Regions from separate parts of the Homo sapiens genome. Here region 1 is linked to region 2. The links are contacts of gene promoters, found by promoter capture Hi-C in human tissues and cell types (Jung and others, 2019). All regions are on one chromosome and are shown on one strand. The core of a region is centred on a gene start or on the middle of the fragment in contact, and the rest is flanking DNA. Distances in the headings are between cores, read along the strand shown.

The links. The method cuts DNA at HindIII sites, captures the fragments that hold promoters and counts their contacts. A contact is called where the count stands out against the background at its distance.
Region 1: the fragment with the promoter of SGCA here is called in contact with the fragment with the promoter of CHAD in region 2 in 1 of the 25 tissues and cell types used here (IMR-90 fibroblasts).

Annotation. Positions count from the first base shown.
Region 1 is chr17:50,161,602-50,167,268 of GRCh38, reverse strand. It overlaps SGCA (sarcoglycan alpha), which reads right to left and starts at 1,264. Exons shown (of 10, transcript NM_000023.4): 1 at 1,192-1,264. The coding sequence starts at 1,228. It overlaps LOC105371818 (a long non-coding RNA gene), which reads left to right and starts at 912. Exons shown (of 4, transcript XR_934833.3): 1 at 912-1,251; 2 at 1,790-2,058. RefSeq lists enhancers at 3,170-3,670, 5,487-5,667 and a silencer at 5,537-5,667. The HindIII fragment of the contact is 20,868 bases long and covers 1-5,667 here.
Region 2 is chr17:50,466,786-50,472,192 of GRCh38, reverse strand. CHAD (chondroadherin) reads left to right here and starts at 3,313. Exons shown (of 4, transcript NM_001267.3): 1 at 3,313-4,153. The coding sequence starts at 3,380. ACSF2 (acyl-CoA synthetase family member 2) reads right to left here. Exons shown (of 16, transcript NM_025149.6): 11 at 1,058-1,165. RefSeq lists enhancers at 2,440-3,397, 3,398-4,356. The HindIII fragment of the contact is 15,801 bases long and covers 139-5,407 here.

The sequences.
Region 1 (5,667 bases), core at 15-2,514, 300 kb after region 2:
CGAGAGAAGCGCTTCCTTTGCTGCCTCCCAGGAAGGGATTGGGGTGGGGATGGGGGAGCAAGCCCTGCTGGGCTAGACATTTTAATCGTCTGGGTTTCGGGATTCGAGGGAGAACCTCTCCCACAACCTTTCCATTCCTTGTTTTAGGCCCCTATTAATGGTGCAGTGGGCAGGGACTGATGTTTGACTGGGAAGTGTGTGTGTGAGGGTGTGTGTGTGTGTGAGGGGATGTGGGGGGGTGTGTGTGTGAAGGTATGTGTGAGGGTCTGTGAGGATGTGTGTGAGGGTGTGTGTGCAAGTGAGTGTGTGTGAGAGGGTGTGTGTGAGGGTGTGTGTGTGTGAAGGTGTGTGTGGGGGGTGTGTGTTTGCGGGGGGTGTGTGGGGGTATGTGGGGGTATGTGGGGGTGTGTGTGGGGGGTGTGTGTGACGGTGTGTGGGGTGTGTGTGTGACGGTGTGTGTGAGGGTGTGTGTGTGAGGGTGTGTGAGGGTGTGTGAGGGTGTGTGTGTGAGGGTGTGTGAGGGTGTGTGAGGGTGTGTGTGAGGGTGTGTGTGTGAGGGTGCCGTGAGGGTGTGTGTGAGGGTGTGTGTGGGTGTGTGTGTGTGTGAGGGTGTGTATGTGTGAAAGGCACTGGGAAAAGAATCCCATGCTAAATGCCCAAGAGCCCAGAGGAGAGGAAGACGGGGCCAGGAGCCTACAGAGGAGGAAGGGTAGCCATTCTGGGCCTGGAGACCCCCACCTTCCTCCCCTAAAATACAGGGAAGAAGAAGGCCTGCCCTAGAGGCCAGTAGGAGCTGAGCAAAAGGAATCCTAAGTCCAAGAGAGGAGCAGAGGACCTGGCCGCCAGCTCCACCCTCCCTCCCAGGGCCAAATTTAGCCTGGGCTTAGAAGCTGCGGCCCAGCCAGCTCATTAAAGGGCCCACGACCCTTTGGGCCTGTGCTGTCAGACCCACCCGGGCCCTAGGACACCTCCAGCCCTCAGAGCTCCCAGCCCCTTCATCCCAGAGCCCAGCTCCCAGCCCCATTCCCTGGATCCCCAGCTGGCCATGGCATTAACACCCCAAAGCCCTTCTGGCGCCTGCCTCACCCAACCCAGATCCCTCTTCTGTGGGCCCTCCACACCTCCGTCTTACCACCCCTAAATCCTGCCCCCTCATCCTGGGCCTCCCCGCTGAACAAGGCCCCAACTTGCCCACGAGGAGAGGAGTCCAGAAGAGTGTCTCAGCCATGGCTGCCCGGCCTGGCCCGCCCGGTGAGTGACAGAGACAGGGGGCAGGGAGGAGAGGAGGGAAGGAGGGAGGTGGCTCGGGGCAGCTGGGTCCCAGCGTCAGCCTCCCCTCCCCGCCTGGAGCATGCACCAAATCTGGGATAGACACCCTCCTCGCACTCATTGTCCCTCCAACCGTCCCCTCCAGTGGCCACAGTGTTTTTTAAACCACCAACCAGGCCACCTCCATCCTCCCTTAAAACTCTAATGGTTCTCATGGCCCCTGAGTTCCCAGCTCATCCCCAGTTGGTGGCTTTCTGGCCTGTCCTGAACCTGGTCAGCTGGTCTAGAATCCCATCCTCTGCCCCTACCCTTCCAACCCCAGGCCCCTGCTCAGCCTCACTCCGCTCCTGCCTAGCTTGGCAGACTCTCTCAAGTCTCCAAGCCGTCGTCCAGGCTATTGCCTCTGCCTGCAGTTCCCTTCCCACCTTCATTCAAGCAGCAACCTTCCAGTCACCTTTCCAGACTCTGCACAGATGTCCTCTCCTCTCTGAAGCCTTTCTGACCTCCCTTCTTCTGCTAGGCCAAGCTGGGTGTCCCCTTAGCCCCTGCGTGCTTTCCTGGGCACAACACAATCACACAGACTGCTCCAAGCTCCTCGAAGACTAGGATCTTGTCACGTTTGTATCCTTGGGCCTGGCACAGGGCCTGGTAACTAGTAGGTGTAGCTGGCTGGCGGCAGCTTCCTTAACAGCAAACGTAGGTGCCATCCACCCAGCCTTTATCCCCAGTCCAAGCACTTCAGCGTGGAGGTCTAGCAAGCCCTGGACAGGACCAGCCAGCTAGAGACAGGTGAGCGGAGGAGGCACCCTCTCTGGCCCATGGAGTCAGGGTTCATTCGGCGCATAGACTTGGAGGCCTGGAGGTGGGCCACCTTGGCCACTTGCTGGGGATGAGGCCTTGAGTGCACCATTTGCCCTCTAGCCCATTTCCACAACTATAAACTGGCAAGAATAGTGCTTGCCTCTTGGCATCATTGTGAGGACTCCACAAAGTAATGAATGCAGCGCATATTTATGAAACACCTGCTATGTATCAGACATTGAAATTGCAAAGATAAGCAAACCTCTGCCCACATGGAGGTCACCTGCCAGTGGGTAATACCAGCTAGCGCTGCCAGCTACTGTGCTGAGAATCTTACATATATCTACCTATATTACCTCATTCCATCTCCTCAGCAGTTCCATGAGGCAGGTATTATTACTGTGCCCATTTAACAGATGATAAAACTGAGGCACAGGGGTGTATACCTTCCCCAAGGCCACATTGCTGATGAGTAGAATGCATGTGGACGGCTTAGCCCAGTGCCTGGCTCAGTCGATGACTGTGCTGCTGATGTACTTGCCCGGCCCTGCTTCCCCTTCCTTCTTGCCTCTGCCAAAGGATCTCAGTCCAGGGGCGATGGGGCGCGGTGTCCTCTCCCCAGGTCTCTCACTTAGGGCAGGCACAGGGGCACTCTCCCCAGGTGCCCTGAGAAGGGGGCGGGGACCTATGGCTGCCAGGGTTCCCAAATCCTTGGTGCCTGTGTGACCTCTCCTCCAGGGCCTCAAAAGGACAACAAAATACCCCAGGCAAGGATCACTTGGGTCCAGCCTAAGGGCACAGGTGTTGGCCTGCAGATGGGGTGACTGGTAGGCAGGTTACGCAGTCCTTGTCCCTTCCTCTCTCTCTCTCCACCTGACTGACCCGCTCATCCCTGGAGAGCCACCAAATTCCAGAGTCAGCGTCCCCTCAGGCAAGGCAGTATTTGTCCCAGCATCACCTGGCCATCTCTCTGTCTTCTCAGAGACAGAGGGAGGGAGGAAGAAAGGTTCTGGAGGCAGAGGAAGAGCCCAAGGGTTCTGGGGGAGCAGGCAGAAGTGCCAACCCCCTGGGCACCTGCCCAGCCTCACCCCTGAGCTTCTCCATGTGACTCCCCGCCCCCTGCCGTCCCCCTGGCTATTTTTGGAGCCACCCACTCAGCTGTCTTAAGGTAGCAGTGCCTGGCCCCAGTGTCACCAGGCCCACAGAGGCCAGCCTTCCTTAATGAAAAGCTGCAGCTACTTCCCCATCAGATCCTCCCTGCCCAATTCAAGGGAGCCAGGGACTGTCCCACAAGCCAGAAAGTCCCCAGAAACCCTTCTCAGGCCCCTCAGCCATCAGAGGACCTTCCCACTCAGAGCTGTCTGGATTGCAACCTGCTGCTTGTAACACACAGCACCTTCTGTCTATTGGGCCTAGGGGTGGGAAGGGAGGTCACAGGGTCTTTAAACTTCTTAGTTTGAAAAATTTGCAGCATACTATAATAAGCCCCCGTGTATCTGTCACCTGGCTTCAACAATTATCAACTCATGGCCAGTCTAGTTTCATCTGTACCCCTCCTGATTAATTTCATCCATCAATATTTCAGTGTGTATCTTTAAATGATAATGACTCTTTTTAACATAATCACATAACACGTTCAGCTATTAACATCATCAATAAAATTCCTTAATATCAAACTTCTAGTGTTCAAATTACCAATTTCTCATAAACATACATATTTTTACAGTGTATTTGTTTGACTCAAGATACAAAGAAGATACACACATTGCAACTGATTGATGATTTATAGGGCTTTTTTTTTTTTTTTTTTTGAGACAGAGTCTCGCTCTGTCACCCGGGTTGGAGTGCAGTGCCATGATCTCGGCTCACTGCCACCTCCACCTCCCAGATTCAAGCAATTCTCCTGCCTCAGCCTACAGGCACGTGCCACCATGCCCAGGGGTTTCACCATGTTGGCCAGGCTGGTCTCAAACTCCTGACCTCAAGTGATCCACCCACCTTGGCCTCACAAAGTGCTGAGATTACGGGCGTGAGCCACTGTGCCTGGCCAAGGCTCTTTTAAATTTCTTCAAATCTATAGGTTCCCATACATCCTTTCTCTCTCTTTTTTCCTTCCTCCCTTCCTTCCTTCCTTCCTTCATACTTTCCTTCCTTTCCTCCCTCCTTCCTTCCTTCCCTCCCTCCCTCCTTCTTCTTCCTTCTCTCCCTCCCTCCCTCCTTCTTCTTCCTTCTCTCCCTCCCTCCCTCCTTTCTTCCTTCCTTCCCTCCCTCCCTCCCTCCTTTCTTCCTTCCTTCCCTCCCTCCCTCTCCTTCCTTCCTTCCTTCCTTCCTTCCCTCCCTCCCTTCTCTTTCTCGTTCCTTGAAGGAGCCAGAAAATTTCTTCTGTAGTTTTTTGCCCTCTGGATTTTGCTGATTGCATCTCTATGGTGATCTTTAACATGTTCCTCCCACCTCCATACTTCCTGTACGTTGTATTTCCTGTACATTGTTACTGTAATTTGTAGTTGGATCTAGAGGCCTTATAAGGTTTATGTTCAATTTCCTTCGTTGAGACCACTTCATAGGTGGTGACAGTGTTCTTCCATTTGAAGGCACATCATGCGTTTCTGTGGTCTTAGTAGTGTCTTGCCTCCGCCATTAGCGTTTTATTTTTTGTGTGTGTGCAGAATAGTGATATTCAGATTTGATCACTCTGATCACCCCTTCCTTTATTAGCTGGAATAATTATAGACAGAAACTGCCCCTTGCGATTTGGTTACTGAGTGGGAAAGTTCGTAAAAGGAAGACGGGAGAAACGCTGGACTCTTCCTGTATTAAACAGTTTCTGAATAAAGAGCTGTTTCCCTAGCATCCTCCAAACTCTGGCCAGTCCGAGCTTCTTTGGTAGTAGTAGAATGATGATACATGGTTTACACCTATCTGACTGCTTCAGTCCATTGCAACTAGGGTCCCTTCTGGTGCTCACATTGCCTATCTTTAGCTCTCCGTTTTGTCATCCCCAGTTGGGGCGTCGGTCAGGAGAGCTGGAGGGGTCGGGGCTCGTACCCCACCTCGCACAGCTGGTGCCCTTGCCGTGCCCTAGGCTCCGCCGGTACTTCCCCGGCCTCCGCCTCACTCCTGCGGCCCAGCCCTGTCCTGAGCTAGTCGCTTCTCTGTCCTGGCCTTTTTGACATCCGCATCCGTCTCTCCAGCTTTCTGCCCCGTCTCTGCCCACCAGTGCCTAAATGTAAGCCCTCTGGTCCTTTGTCCCTGTATCTCCCCATCCCAGTGAATGTTTGCTGAATGAACGAATGACTGCTGTCCAGTGTGTCTCATTCAGCTTCAGTTTCTGTGCACCTGTCTCTAAGTCTCTTGAGGTCTGAGGCCGTGTTTTCTTTATCTGCATCTATACGTTGCCGTGAGGGACAAAGGAAAGGGCTTCTCGTCATTGTGATCTGATTCTCGCATCTGCCTCCCAGACTCCACCCACATCTTTCTCCCCTGTCCCGTACGCCGCCTCCAGCGCAACAACAAAGACTGCGACCTGGCCAGTCCGCCACGAGAGGGCGCGTTCGCTGGCGCCAGCCCGGTCTTGCGCCTGCGCGATGTTGGGACGGA
Region 2 (5,407 bases), core at 2,064-4,563:
GGCTGAGGAAACAGAGTGGGCAGGCAGCTGCTGCAAAGAAAGAGGTTTGTGGACTGCAGAGCCAGCTGAAGAATTATAAACCGTGCAGAGGAGAAGGGAGTCTCCTCTTACTTCCCATTAAGCAGCAAATAAGCCAAACAGGGTGGCATGGCAACACCATGTGAACAGGAGAGACAGAGTCTGAAAGCCTGGTAGAGAAAAGAGCCACGGCCACCGTGCCAAGGAAAGCTGAGCCTCTGTGTGCCTCAGTGTCTGTGTCCGTGAAATGGGGTGAGTGATGCCTGCCCCTGTTTCCCTTCCAGGTGGGCATCTTAGTGACAGTGGCAGTGCAGCTGTAGCACACACGGGAGGAGGCTCACATCCCTACTCAATCCCTGGGTACATGGTTGCTCTGGCGGGAGGGCAGGGCAGATTCACGCCAGGACAGCGGTCAGCCCCAGGGGAAGCAGCTGCTTGTGCACGGGGGCAGCGATCCCCCAGGGGCGGGAGCAGAAGGGTGCAGGGGAAATCAGGAGCCAGCTGGCACAGCCCCAGTGTTGGAGCAGGAAAGGAGGCATGGCTGGGCATTTGAGATTCAGGTGCACTCTGGGGCAACCTTTGAGGGGCAAAGGGACCGCCCCAAAGGGATAGGCTGCTTGGGAAATGAAGTGTTTACGCCAAGCAAGAAGAAGAACTCTGCTAAAGCGAGAGGCGAGCACCACTGGAGGAAAAGAAGCTGTGTAGGAAAACTCTCTGTGCTCTGGCTCCTCTTTGAGGCTACCCTGGCTGCCCTGAAACAGACAGTGGGCTTGGCAAAAACACACCTCAGACAGGAAGGGAGGCCGCGGAGAAGTTCAGCTGGCAGCCGCTCACAGCCACTGTTCCAGCTCTTCCCCTTTCATGCTTAGCCCACAGAGAACACTCCGGGCCAGGCCTAGCACACCCCTGCTGCTGGGGGGCTCTAGGCATCCTGAGTGAGCCATTTGACTCTCTCACTGAAAGCAACCGATGTCCCAGCTGGGTGCACCCCAGCTGGGTGACGGGAGGTGGGACTTTGGAGTCTTGGTCAGGGGCTCACCTCCGTGTGAGGCATAATTCTGCCCACGCTTTCTGCCTTCTGCTCCACAGTGTCCTCAGGGAAGTGCGCGAATGTCACGGGACTGTTCTCTGTGGTTCCATAAGCAACCTAGAGGGTCCAGAAAGGGTGTTTGAAGAGGGCTCAGCACGTGCAGAGGGATCAGGTGAGCTATCTGAGGAAATGGGAAGGAATTCATAAAAGAAAAGGGAAAGTGGAGGGCAGCCGAATGGTGGAAACAGAGACATCATTGGTAGGGGCCTGGGGTCAGGAGGCAGAGGTGCTGGGAGTGAGCAGACTAGATCTCTGCAGGGCCCCAGATCTGAAAGAAAATTGAGAGCAGGGACACCATTCTCTTCCAGCTGGAGCTCTCTCAGTGCCCCGTTTCCCTGGAGCAGCCACCTGTCTGTGCCTGTGGCTCCGGTATTACCAACACCCCACACTTCTCCCCCCATCCCCTGGCTGCCTTAACCCCACCTTCCTGATTTCAGGCCACATCCCCGGCTCCTCCCTTCCAAGCTGAAGGCCCCATAAACTTGATGAGAAAGCCAGCCTGCCTTGGCCCAGCTAGGAGTGGCACAGACACAACCCCACCCCCGCATTCTGCAAACCCTGAACAAGTGCCTGGCCTTGGGGCAGGCGTCCCCCAAGCTCTGGAGAGTTTCCCGTGAATTTATTTCCATCAAAATAAAAAAACAACCTAAGCAGTGATTTTAAAAACCAGTGGTACCCCCACCCCACCTCCCCCATTTCCAGTGGTTGGAAAGCCTGAGCAACAGAAAAACCAGAAGCCAGCCTTGGAGAAGCCTAAATACCATCAAGGAATGGTCTAGGCCAAGTATGACCCTCCTATCCTAGAGGCAAGGGGCAGAGAGGTTTGGGAAAAGGGCAGGCCCTGGAAACCAGGCCCCAACACGAGGGTACTGGGTAAGGGAAGAGAGGCTAGTTACCCCGTATCCTAGGTCCCCTTTAATCAACGGATACCAGATCTCATCCATCCTCCTCCCTGCACCAAGCTTCCCCCATATCAGCTGCTCTGGCTCTGGCACGGCTGGGGTTTGGTTCAATGTGGGTTCTGGTTTCTCCTTCCACCCCTCATCACAGACAATATCCTGTGCCAGGCAGCTTGGAGCTCACCCTGAGGCCAGAGCTGTGACCCTGCCTGCTCACCCTCCCCTTTCCACAGGAATCCGGACATCGTGGCTGGCAAGTGGGCACACAGAAATCTGGCGGGCTGGGGCGGGACTGCCCACAGAACTTAGGGTCTGGCAGCCAGAGCCGTCCAGGGCTGGTCCCTCGACCTGCCCCACCCCCTCCCGCACCCCTCCTCACAGTCCTGGGGCCACCGCCCGAATGTGGCATCTGCCAAGTACACCTCGGCGCCACTCAGCCGCCACCCTGAGACCCCTCAGGGGCGGGTCCTGACCACTAGGGTTGGGGATGAGGGATGGAGATATTTCGGGGCGATGAAGGAGGGGGGATGGTGCGACTGTGCTTGTGGCCTGTGGTTTCCAGGTGTGTTTGCCATTCCTGTGGGCCACTCTCCCCCACTTCCCACTTCTCTGCTTAGCCTTCAGCGGTGGAAAAAGGGGATGAGGGCGCCGGCGACAGAAACGCAAGCGGGGTTGGAAGAGAGGGGTGGGGGCGCGCCCGAGGGTGGGGAAGGAGCTCGGGTCTACCCAGGGCCAGCTTCGGCGCGTCGAGTCTGAAGTGGGAGACCGACGCCGGGGCGGCTCTCACGCTCGGCAGGCGCCGCACAAGCGCCCCTTTAAAGCGCAGGCAGCTGGCCCACCGCAGGGAGACGCATCCAGCTGTCCGGCCCCGCTTCCTCCCGCCTCGCATCCAGGGCACCCGGCCGAGCGTGTGTGGATGGCGCGGCGTGGAGGCTCAAACCTGAGCAAACAAATAAGTTGAGGGAACGCCTCCCTCTCTCCGATGTAAACTCGGGGCTCCAGACATAACTATTCCCCCTTCCCAGAAAAGCCCCGGGAAAGGCGGTAGGCAGAGGAGCACCATAGGAGAGCGGGGGGCTACAGCCGGGGCTCAGGGCTCGGGGCTCGGGGGCCACGGTCCCACCCCCTCATGCACGGTAGCCGGCTGGGGGAACGGCCCCGCCCCCTTCCCCGTGGAGGGCGGGGGCGCATCTCTGGGCGCGAGCGAGTTAAGCCCAGTGGCCTCGATGCTCCACGTAGGAGCTGGCTCGGCTGCCGGCTGCGGTCAGGGCCACCGTATAAAGAGGGCGGCAGACCCGAGCGCCTAGGACTCGCCGCTGCCCGCGCCCCGCCGCCGCTGCTGCCCCCAGCCCCGGCCCCAGGCGTCCCAGCCATGGTCCGCCCAATGCTCTTGCTCAGCCTCGGCCTCCTGGCTGGTCTGCTGCCGGCGCTGGCCGCCTGCCCCCAGAACTGCCACTGCCACAGCGACCTGCAGCACGTCATCTGCGACAAGGTGGGGCTGCAGAAGATCCCCAAGGTGTCAGAGAAGACCAAGCTGCTCAACCTACAGCGCAACAACTTCCCGGTGCTGGCTGCCAATTCGTTCCGGGCCATGCCGAACCTCGTGTCATTGCACCTGCAGCACTGCCAGATCCGCGAGGTGGCCGCCGGTGCCTTCCGCGGCCTCAAGCAACTTATCTACTTGTACCTGTCCCATAACGACATCCGCGTGCTGCGCGCAGGTGCCTTCGACGACCTGACCGAGCTGACCTACCTCTACCTGGACCACAACAAGGTCACTGAGCTGCCCCGGGGGTTGCTCTCCCCGCTGGTCAACCTCTTCATCTTGCAGCTCAACAACAACAAGATCCGTGAGCTGCGCGCAGGCGCCTTCCAGGGAGCCAAGGACCTGCGCTGGCTCTACCTGTCGGAAAACGCGTTGAGCTCCCTGCAGCCCGGGGCCCTGGACGACGTGGAGAACCTCGCCAAATTCCACGTGGACAGGAACCAGCTGTCCAGCTACCCCTCAGCTGCCCTGAGCAAGCTACGGGTGGTGGAGGAGCTGAAGCTGTCCCACAACCCCCTGAAAAGCATCCCGGACAATGCCTTCCAGTCCTTTGGCAGATACCTGGAGACCCTCTGGCTGGACAACACCAACCTGGAGAAGGTGAGCTCCTGGCTGTGGGCTCTGCCCTGGTTCCTTCTTCCCTTCCTGGAGGCCCCAGGAGCCAGGGCCACAGCTGGCACCATCCCCCGTCCCCAGGTTCCCTGTCCCTCTGGCTATCTCCAAGGTGAGCAGCTCTGCCACCTCCCTTCCTCGCCTTGTCACATCCCTACCCTAATCCCTGTCTGCTGCCAGTCTCGACCACTGCCCTCCTAGGATTCTTACATATAAAAGGAGTGGGACTGCCCTGGCCCCACAAAAGGCCCCCTAGGGCCATCTCCAGTGCTTCCAAACCCCCAACTGTGAGCAGCAGCCACCTCTTCCTGTTGGGCCTTCCACCCCTCCTCTGCTGTTTTTCCCGTCTCCAGTAAACCTACCACCCCATAAAGGAAGGTTTGTTTATTGAGGAGCCTTCCAGAGGAGCTGGGCAGATCAGGCCCACAAAGAGACCCTGTTCCTGGTGGGGGCTGTGCATGTGTGCTAAGGGGGAGTGGGGGACTGGGGAGTGAGGGGAAGCAAATGCCTGAGGAAGACATTCTCCATGCCCCATAGAGGCCCTGGTGGATGGCCCTGCCCAATCCACACAGACACAATTCACTGCATTCTCAAGTCCATTGCAGCTCAGTAGGCGTGGGACCAAGGGCTCCCCCAGGATGCAAGCATCGTGCCCATGGGCTCCGTGAAGGGGCAAAGGCAAGACCACTATTGTCAATCCTTGGCCCAAGACCCCAGGTGTCTCTCCACAGAGAAGACTGGCGTGACTCACTGTCTCCAGACTGCTAACTGCCCTTTGCCCTCCTCCGTCACTAGACCCATCTCCTGTCTGCATCCTCACTCATTCCTTTCTCCCCTGGGGTGCCCAGTGTCTGGCCAGGTGGGGCTACCTTGGATCAGAGCAGAATCCCTTCTCTGGGACTGGAAAAATCACCCTGGTACAGGGGCTTCAGCCAGGAGGTTTGGGTGGGGAACCAACAAGGTAGAGGAGAGTCTGGTTACTGGAGACCTTCATACCTCAATGTGGGCCACAGGAAAGGGTGCGGGTGTGGAGATGTGGGCAGAATCTCACTTGGGCAGCAGCCAACCTTTGTCTGGGTGGAAGGAGCCTGCTCAAGCCTGCCCTTCTTCAGCCCTGCCTCTCCCCAGCTGAAGTTGGAGTCCCCTGTGGCCCACCAGTGCCAGAGTGGTCTTTCAGTGGGCAGCAGAGCAGCGAATTAGGGGCTGGTTTGGGGCAGGGGAGGCCAGACAGGAATTGTGGCG